2 separate regions of the Homo sapiens genome follow, and region 1 is linked to region 2. Evidence: promoter capture Hi-C in human tissues and cell types (Jung and others, 2019). All regions are on one chromosome and are shown on one strand. The core of a region is centred on a gene start or on the middle of the fragment in contact, and the rest is flanking DNA. Distances in the headings are between cores, read along the strand shown. Region 1 overlaps CDK10 (cyclin dependent kinase 10). Region 2 holds the start of DPEP1 (dipeptidase 1).

What was found. Contacts are between HindIII fragments. The study calls those that stand out against the background at their distance.
Region 1: a contact is called between a fragment that was not itself captured here and the fragment with the promoter of DPEP1 in region 2, in 6 of the 25 tissues and cell types used here (heart right ventricle, lymphoblastoid cells, mesenchymal stem cells and 3 more).

The regions. Positions count from the first base shown.
Region 1 is chr16:89,688,545-89,691,761 of GRCh38, forward strand. It overlaps CDK10 (cyclin dependent kinase 10), which reads left to right. Exons shown (of 13, transcript NM_052988.5): 2 at 708-780; 3 at 2,009-2,080; 4 at 2,899-3,001. Among named protein-coding and RNA genes, the nearest start is that of LINC02166, 3.2 kb to the left of the region's middle. The HindIII fragment of the contact is 5,257 bases long and covers 1-3,217 here.
Region 2 is chr16:89,609,074-89,615,396 of GRCh38, forward strand. DPEP1 (dipeptidase 1) reads left to right here and starts at 4,569. Exons shown (of 11, transcript NM_001389466.1): 1 at 4,569-4,646. RefSeq lists a silencer at 4,169-4,327 and an enhancer at 5,733-6,323. The HindIII fragment of the contact is 39,869 bases long and covers 1-6,323 here.

The DNA of each region.
Region 1 (3,217 bases), core at 36-2,535, 76 kb after region 2:
CTTCCCGTCACTGAGGTGAGAAGAGGTGAAAGCTTCCTTTCACCTGGAAGTCACACGGTCCCTTCAGCTCACATTCCAAGGCCAGATGCCACTGGGTAGCGTTTCATAACTTCCAGGAGGTAGTGATACAGGGATGCTGGGACAGCAGCCTCTGCCACAGATGTATTTTTGTATGTGGGATTGAAAGGGAGTATCTGAGTGGCCGCCTCTGATATTTCTTTCAAAGCATTGGCCCAGTATCGTCACCACCTTTTCTCATCAGAAAAGCCCAAGAGGCCGGGTACGGTGGCTCACGCTTGTAATCCCAGCACTTTGGGAGGCCAAGGCGGGCAGATCACTTGAGGTCAGGAGCTCAAGACCAGCCTGGCCAACATGGTGAAACCCAGTCTCTACTAAAAATAGAAAATTAGGCGGTTGTGGTGGCACCTGCCTGTAATCCCAGCTACTCAGGAGGCTGAGGCCGGAGAATCACTTGAACCCAGGAGGCGGAGGTTGCAGTGAACCATGTTCTTGCCACTGCACTCCAGCCTGGGCAACAGAGCGAGACTCAGTCTCAAAAAAAGAAAAAAAAAGCCCAAACGTGTGGTTGCCTTTCTGTTTGGTGAGCAAGACGTGAGTGGGCTCCCTGGTACAAATTCCATTTGAAATTTCCTCAGTTGTTCCATCAGCTGCCAAATTTCCACACTGGCAACACCCTTCTGTTTCAGCTGGGACGATGCCGGAGTGTGAAGGAGTTTGAGAAGCTGAACCGCATTGGAGAGGGTACCTACGGCATTGTGTGTGAGTGGCCAAGGCTAGGACATGTGGCCGCAGCTCGTGGCTGTGACAGTGTGGGACGAGACTGTCGAAGCAGCAGCCGCGTTGGGGCTGGAAGGGACTCAGACCCTGTGCTCTGAAACAGGGCAGAAACCTGTTCAGGAACTTCAATTCCTGATGTAGTTATCACAAACATTGTACCATTTCTGGGTAAACGTAAGCATCCGGTTGCTAATGCCCATAATCCAAACGTGTCACTGCAGAGTACACAGAACTGTTAGAGAAATAAAATACAGAACTTTCCAGAAGCAGCAGGAGCTGGACATGGTGCTCATGTCTATCACCTCAGCAACTCTGGAGGAGTCACCTGAGCCCAGGTGTTTTTTCTTTTTGTTTGTTTTTGAGATGGGTCTTGCTCTATTGCCCAGACTGGAGTGCAGTGGCATGATCATAGCTCACTGCGGCCTCGACCTCCTAGGCTCAAGTGATCCTCCCACCTCAGCCTCCTGAGTATCTGGGACCACAAGAGTACATAAGCACACCCAGCTAATTTTTAAATTTTTGGTAGAGATGGGATCTCCCTATGTTGCCCAGGCTGGTCTTGAACTTCTGGGCTCAAATGATCCTCCTGCCTCGGCCTCCCAAAGCACTGGGATTACAGGTGTGAGCCACTGCACCCGGCCAAGCCTAGGAGTTTGAGGCTGCAGTGAGCTGTGATCACGCCACTGCACCCCAGCCTTGGCAACAGAGTGAGACCCTGTCTCAAAAAAACCAAAAACACCACACACAACTAAAGGTTATAACAGATGTGAAATTGGCGTAGGTCATTCTGGAAGCTGCACACATTAGCAGGATGTTTTGTAGAGCCATCTTCACACAAAATAAGGTTTGCTTTTTTCTGCATAGAGTACCTTATTTGCTTTTAGGACATTACAAGAGAGCACAAAGCAGTGATCTGCATGCTAAGGAGGACATGGAGAGCCTGGAGCCACAGAACTGAGTGGCTGGAGGCCAGGGTCCAGCACAGAGCAAAGTTGGGCACCCCCTGCCCAGTTCAAATGAGGAAACCCTCCGGGGGAACGCGTCTCGGGCTAGGGGCGTTGCACAGAGTGGGGACTGAGTGTCACTGGGCATGAGGTTGTCAGAGGAAAGAACGGGGACCCCTGTGGCTCAGGGAGAGCCTCCCGTTCAGCGCTAGGGAGCCCACGAGGGGCATCGAGATGATGTCATCACCAATGTGTTTCCATTCCAGATCGGGCCCGGGACACCCAGACAGATGAGATTGTCGCACTGAAGAAGGTGCGGATGGACAAGGAGAAGGATGGTGAGCAGGAAATTGGGGTGTTGGGACCTCGCACTGGGAGGAGGCAGAAGGATGTGAGTTACCTGAAGTTTCCTCAGAGCGACTGCACGGTGCTTGTAGCGGGGGCCGGCCTCTGGGAGGGTTCTGGTGTGGCCCAGCACATCACCCCCAGGTCCACACGCAGCCTCAGCTGTCTGCCAGGAGGGCTCTGCAGTCTCCATCCCCTCCTCCCCCTCCTGTCTGGTGAGGCCACCTCACTGCAGGCTCAGCTCTGCTGTCCCCTCCACCCCCAGCACCTGCCTGTGCAGGCAGGGCCCTGCCATGCCCCACATAGATGTCCACGGTGTTTAGAGAGGTGCCGATTCGTATTTGGTCAAGGAAGAGTTAAAAGTGCTTATTGGGCCGGGCATGGTGGCTCATGCCTGTAATCCCAGCACTTTGGGAGGCCGAGGCAGGCGGATCACCTGAGGTCGGCAGTTCAAGACCAGCCTGACCAACATGGAGAAACCCCATCTCTACTAAAAATACAAAATTAGCCAGGCGTGGTGGCACATGCCTGTAATCCCAGCTACTAGGGAGGCTGAGGCAGGAGAATTGCTTGAACCCGGGAGGCAGAGGTTGCGGTGAGCCGAGATGGTGCCATTGCACTCCAGCCTGGGCAACGAGCGAAACTCCGTCTCAAAAAAAAAAAAATGCTTATTGGGGTCGCCCCAATTCTCCCTGAGGTGGGGACACTGCAGCACCTGCTATCAGGTGTTCGTGAAGCCCAAGAGTGGCTGGGGTTGGGGCTTCCCCGCCATCACTGGGGTGGGGCTCGCTGAGGCCACCTCCCTCCCCAGGCATCCCCATCAGCAGCTTGCGGGAGATCACGCTGCTGCTCCGCCTGCGTCATCCGAACATCGTGGAGCTGAAGGAGGTGGTTGTGGGGAACCACCTGGAGAGGTACGTGGTCTCCTGGTCTGCACATTGGGCCCTAGGGAGCATGTGTCTTGGGCTAGAGGTGTTGCACAGAGCGAGGACTGAGTGTCACTGGGCATGAGGTTGTCAGAGAAGAGATGACCCCACCTCACCGCCTGGCTCAGCCCATTGTCTGAGGGGGACACAGGTTGTCCTGCCCATGTCCCCTCCTGCAGCAGGGGAGGCTCCACTTCCACCCCT
Region 2 (6,323 bases), core at 3,319-5,818:
CTCGCTCTGTCACTGAGGCTGGAGTGCAATGACGCGATCTCAGCTCACTGCAACCTCCACCTCCCAGGTTCAAGCCGTTCTCCTGCCTCAACCTCCCGAGTAGCTGGGACTACAGGCGCCCACCACCATGCCCAGCTACTTTTTATATTTTTAGTAGAGAAGGGGTTTCTCCACATTGGCCAGGCTGGTCTCGAACTCCTAAACTCATGTAATCAACCCATGTAATCCGCCTCGGCCTCCCAAAGTGCTGGATTACAGGCGTGAGCCACCTGCCCAGCCATGTTTATTTTATTAGTTTATAAATTTATTTAAAACAGAGATGCAGCCGGGCGCAGTGACTCATGCCTGTAATCCCAGCACTTTGGGAGGCCGAGGCGGGCGGATCACTTGAGGTCAAGAGTTTAAGACCGGCCTGGCTGGCCGGGCGCAGTGGCTCACTCCTGTAGTCCCAGCTACTCGGGAGGCTGAGGCGAGAGAATGGTGTGAACCCGGCAGGCGGAGCTTGCAGTGAGCTGAGATGGCGCCACTGCACTCCAGCCTGGGCGACAGAGTGAGACTCCGTCTTAAAAAAACAAAAAAACAAAAAAAACCACAGCCTGGCCAATATGGTGAAACCCCGTGTCTACTAAAAATACAAAAATTAGCCAGGTTTGGTGGCTCATGCCTATTATCCCAGCTACTCGGGAGGCTCAGGCAGAGAACGGCTTGAACCCAGGAGGTGGAGGTTGCAGTGAGCCGACATCACACCACTGCACTCCAGGCTGGGTGACAGGGCGAGACTCTGTTTAAAAAGCAAAACAAAACAAAACACAAATGGGAACGTGCTGGGCTTACAGACGTGAGCCACTGTGTCCAACCCATGGTTTTTTTTAACCATTATCCTCCAGATGGGCCCTGGAGGTTCACACTCTTTCCCTCTTATACATGTGTTGGTTTATTGTCTTATGTTATCACCTTTATTTACCTTTGAAATCTTTATTGTCACTTTGGTTAAACAGATAACGAAATATTGTTTCACGATGACATATGATCCTATTTTATTTAAGTTTTCAGATCTTTTGACATCTTTGCCAACTTCCCAAAATCAGAATCAAATTCTAAATTAAATCTTCTTGACCTCAAACGGACTTTGAAGTTTTCTAGAAGGTCCCTGGAAAATCTCAAAACTCAAATCCTTTGAAACTGTCAAATCTTTGAAACTGACAGTTTCAAAGGATTTGTTCTACCACCTTGTTAAAAGGGAGATGTTAAACTAATTCAGTTTATTTGATATATTCAATTACATGGGAAGCATTGTCAAAAGACACTTAACTTTCCATACATTATATTTATATAGTTAAAATGTTGCTATTTCAGAAATTATATAAATGTCCTAAAAATTTGTCAATGCCCTTGTTATCCGATCTGTTCGCCTCTGTTACTGTTCATGATTTCAGTTGTTATTTAATACGTCGTGTGTCACAAAAACAACCAGAATTCATTGTGTGTTGTTTTTATAATGAACTCTCATCAGATCTTTCATTATTTTCAGGTTCTTTTTTTTTTTTTTTTTTTGAGATGGAGACTCGCTCTGTCGCCCAGGCTGGAGTGCAGAGGCACGATCTCGGCTCACTGCAACCTTCACCTCCTGGGTTCAAGCGATTCTCCTGCCTCAGCCTCCCGAGTAGCTGGGACTACAGGCGCCCGTCACCACGCCCGGCTATTTTTTGTATTTTTAGTAGAGACAGGGTTTCACCATGTTGGCCAGGCTGGTCTTGAACTGCTGACCTTAGGTGATCCACCCGCCTCGGCCTCCCAAAGTGCTGGTATTACAGGCGTGAGCCACCGTGCCTGGCCCATAATTTTTTTTATTTTTATGTATTTGTTTATTTTGAGACAGAGACTCACTCTGTTGCCAAGGCTGGAGGGCAGTGGCACGATCTCAGCTCACTGCAACCTACACCTCCTGGGTTCAAACACTTCTCCTGCCTCAGCTTCCTAAGTAGATGGGACTGCAGGCGCATGTCACCACGTCTGGCTAAATTTTGCATTTTTAGTAGAGATGGGGTTTCACCACGTTGCCCAGGCTGGTTTCAAACTCCCGACTTCAAGTGATCCGCCCACCTCGGCCTCCCAAAGTGCTGGGATCACAGGCATGAGCCACCGTGCCTGGATAACTGTACTTATATTTTTATAGAAGCTTTATTGAGACAATTCACACACCATAAAATCCATCCCTTTAGTGTGCACAATTGAATGTTTTTAGAATATTCAGAGTCGCACAGCCATCACTACTATTTAATTCCAGATTTTTAATTTAAAAATTTTCATTGCCCTCGCAGGGCACAGGGGCTCACGCCTGTAATCCCAGCACTTTGGTGTTGTAACCAAGCGAGTTATAGAGAAACACCACACTTTGAGACAAATTAAGGAGTCCTTTATTAGCCTGCGACCGAGAGGCCGCTAATGCTCAAAATTCTCTCGGCCCTGAGGAAGGGGCTAGCTTTGTTTGTATACCGTGGTCTAAATGGGGGGGGGGAGTTTAACTGAAGCAATTTTTATAGAAGCAGAACTGGCAAAAAGTTAAAAAATTAATTGGTTACAAATGCAGTTACAAAAAATAAACAGCTCCAGGTGCAGGGGCTTAAACTATCACAAAGAGATAAATGCAGGGGCTTCGGGTGCCATCCACCGAGCGCGTCCCGAGGAGCTGCTGGTGCAGCTTGCCTCAGTATCTTATCAGTAGGTGCATTCCCAGACGTGCTTTGAGTCAGTCACACTAGTTAAGCCTTAAGGGAGGGAGGTGAAGGGGGCTGCAGGTGAAGAAACTAAAATGGAGTCTGTCCGGCGCTCTCTCTGCTACGAGAAGGTCACTTAGGTTAAAACAAGGTTGGGTATCACACTGGGAGGCCGAGGCGGGCGGATCACGAGGTCAGGAGATCGAGACCATCCTGGCTAACACGGTGAAACCCCGTCTCTACTAAAAAAGAAATACAAAAAATTAGCCGGGCGTGGTGGCGGGCGCCTGTAGTCCCAGCTACTCGGGAGGCTGAGGCAGGAGAATGGCGTGAAGCCAGGAGGTGGAGGTTGCAGCGAGCTGAGATCGCGCCACTGCACTCCAGCCTGGGCGACAGAGCAAGACTCTGTCTCAAAAAAAAAAAAAAAAAAGTCATTGCCCCAAATAGAAACCCATTCCCATTAGCACCCACTCCCCACTTTCCTTCACAGCCTCAACAACCATGAATCCACCTTCTGTGTCTATGGAGTCACTTATTCTGGACATTTCATATAAGTGGAATCACACGACATGTGGTCTTTTGAGTCTAGCTTCTTTCTTTCTTTTCTGAGACAGGCTCCCACTCTGCGGCCCAGGCTGAAGTGCAATGGCGTGATCGCAGCTCACTGTAACCTCAGTCTCCCAGGCTCAGGCGCTCCTCCTGCCTCAGCCTCACAGCAGAGACCACAGGTGCGCACCACCACACCCGACTATCTGGCTTCTGCCACTTAGCGAAATGTTTCTGAGGTTCTTCATGTTATAGCACGTGTCAGCACGTCACTCTTCTTCATGGCTGAGTAATACTCCACTGCGTGAAGAGACACATTTATCTGTCCCCGTGTTGGGCATCTGCACTCTTCCCACATTTTGGCTATACTAAATTGTCCTGCTACGAACACCTGTGTAGTTTCTGTGTAAAGGTACAGTACCTATATGTTGGGGTGATCAGACCCAACCCCAGGTCGTGGGGGTGACAAAGTCCGGCGGAGTCAAAGGATTCAGAAAAACACAGAGAGAGAAAGGTGGCACACCAGGGGGCCATCGCTATTGTGGAGGCTGCAAAAGCCCGAGCTCTGGGAGCCCACGGTATTTATTGGTAATGCAACAAAGAAACAGATGGTGAGAATATGGAGGTCAAAAGACCACGTTGCATTAAGCACATGATTACAGCTGTGCCGGTTTAGCATTTATATGGAGCATGTTCTGCTACTTGAGATAATGGGAATAGGGGCCTAGGAGGGCTAGAAGGAAGGAGCCAGCAAGTCTAGACACATTCCAAAGGACATCATGCAAGCCCTGCCTCAGTTTCCCTCCCAACACCTATATGTCTTGTTGGTATACATGTTGTATTTTCACAACGAAAATGCATGAGAAAAAGGACACAGATGGCTTATGTGTACTGATGTGTAGCATTCTCTAAGATCTGACATCACAGAGCTGGACAGCACAGCTGTGCACGCACCCCCCTGGCTGGGAGGTGGCACATCCACACATGAGGGAAAAACACTGCCAGGACATCTCAGGGCACTCTCAGGAAATGAGGAAGCTGCTGGAGAAGTTTCTAGCCTTGGGGGAGGTCAGGACGCAGAGCCATCTCCTGGAGCAAAGTTCCCTCCTCCTCTCTCCCTCCTCCTCTCTCCCTCCTGCAGCCCTTCCTTCCGACCCCTGGCCCTTTCTCTCCAACCTTCCCCTCCCCTCCTCCATTTCCCTCCTCTTTCTACTTTCAGAGAACACAGGGTTCCTGCAGGAAATGGGGCAGTTTCACCTTCCTGAGGAGGGGCCTGGGAGGGGCAGCAGGTGGCCGGGTAGGGCCAGCCCAGCTGTGAGCCTGGCGTGGGAGCTGCCTAGGCCGGGCCCTGCCAGGGAGCAAGTCTGCATCGCAGAGGCCAGGGTGAGTGGGCTGGGGAGTCGGTGCGCCAGGGTACTGGGGTGCCCACCTGGGGTGGTGCAGGCCCGGGGACCCCAGGGCACCACTGTGGGTGGAAGCTGGGACCAGGCGTGCGGGGCAGGGGACGCGGCGGCTTCCTGGGATTCTAGGAGGCTGAGGCCAGGTGTGTGCGGCAGGGGACGGGGCGGCTTCCTGGGATTCTAGGAGGCTGGGACCAGGTGTGTGGGGCAGGGGACGAGGCAGCTTCCTGGGATTCTAGGAGGCTGGCACCAGGTGTGTGGGGCAGGGGACGCGGCTGCTTCCTGGGATTCTAGGAAACTGGGGCCAGGTGTGTGGGGCAGGGGACGCGGCTGCTTCCTGGGATTCTAGGAAACTGGGGCCAGGTGTGTGGGGCAGGGGACGCGGCGGCTTCCTGGGACTCAAGGAGGTGGGAGAGCTGCTCTCAGACCCGCCGCTGTCCTCCCACTGGCCCTCCCCGTGGTCCCTAGGATGAGGTCTGGACCCGCCAGGCCCTCCAGAGGCCCCACAACCCCGCTTGTCCACTGTGCCGGCTGTTCCTTCCTTGTGGCGCCCAGTGCGGTCCTAGGCACCCTTGGGACTCAGCTCACGTACCCCTTCCTCCAGGAAGAGTTCTCAGAGGCTGTGTGAGGAGCGCCGAGTCCCCGGACTTACTCTCTGTTCTGGAATTCTCTGCGCAGTCATCTGCCTTCCCGCCCAGCTAAGAGCAGGGCCTGTTGTCCGGCCCCACAATTTCCTTCCAGGTGGAAAGGATTTGCTGAATGAAAATCAAAGCTGTGGCCGGGCGCGGTGGCTCACGCCTGTAATCCCCACACTGTGGGAGGCCGAGGTGGGCAGATCATGAGGTCAGGAGATCGAGACCATCCTGGCTAACACGGTGAAACCCCGTCTCTAATAAAAAATACAAAAAATTAGCCGGGCGTGGTGGCGGGCGCCTGTAGTCCCAGCTACTCGGGAGGCTGAAGCAGGAGAATGGCGTGAACCCGGGAGGCGGAGGTTGCGGTGAGCTGAGATCGTGCCACTGCACTCCAGCCTGAGTGACAGAGCGAGACTCCGTATCCAAAAAAATAAAAGAAAAATCTTCTCCCCGGGTAGGGTGCGGGGAGCTTCAGGGTTATCACAGGACATGCTAGAGAGAAAGCCTTGGGCACAGGCGGAAGTTGGAGTCTGGAGCTGCGGCTGGGCTAGCGAAGGGCAGAACCTACTTCGGCCAATGGCTCTTACACAGCCAAGCTATTTTCATGGTGAGGGTCTAGTAGCCTCCACATCTCTTGGCGAATTCTTGCTGATTGGCGTCTGACCCCATGGAGAAGCTCAGTGGGTGTCATGGGTGGAAGGGGGCATCTAGGGCCTCCAAACGTGGAAGTGTCTCTAAAATACCTCCCGCTGGGCCTCAGTCTCCTTGTCGACAAAAGGTCAGCTTTGACAAATCTCCAGTCGGAGGCCAGGAGCAGACGGGGAGGGTCCCTCAGTCCCTGCTTGCAGCTTCAGGGGGACGTAGGCTGCGGTGGACGGACACTGAGCCCCAAAGCGGCCTCTCAGAGCCGCCCCTGAGGGGTGGCCTCACAGGTCGGGCTGAGGCTCCCAGCTCCCACTGGGTACAGAGCGGGCAGGCGGGCCTGGCAGGGCAGTGGTGCTGGTCTACACGCAGCTCTGGAGTCT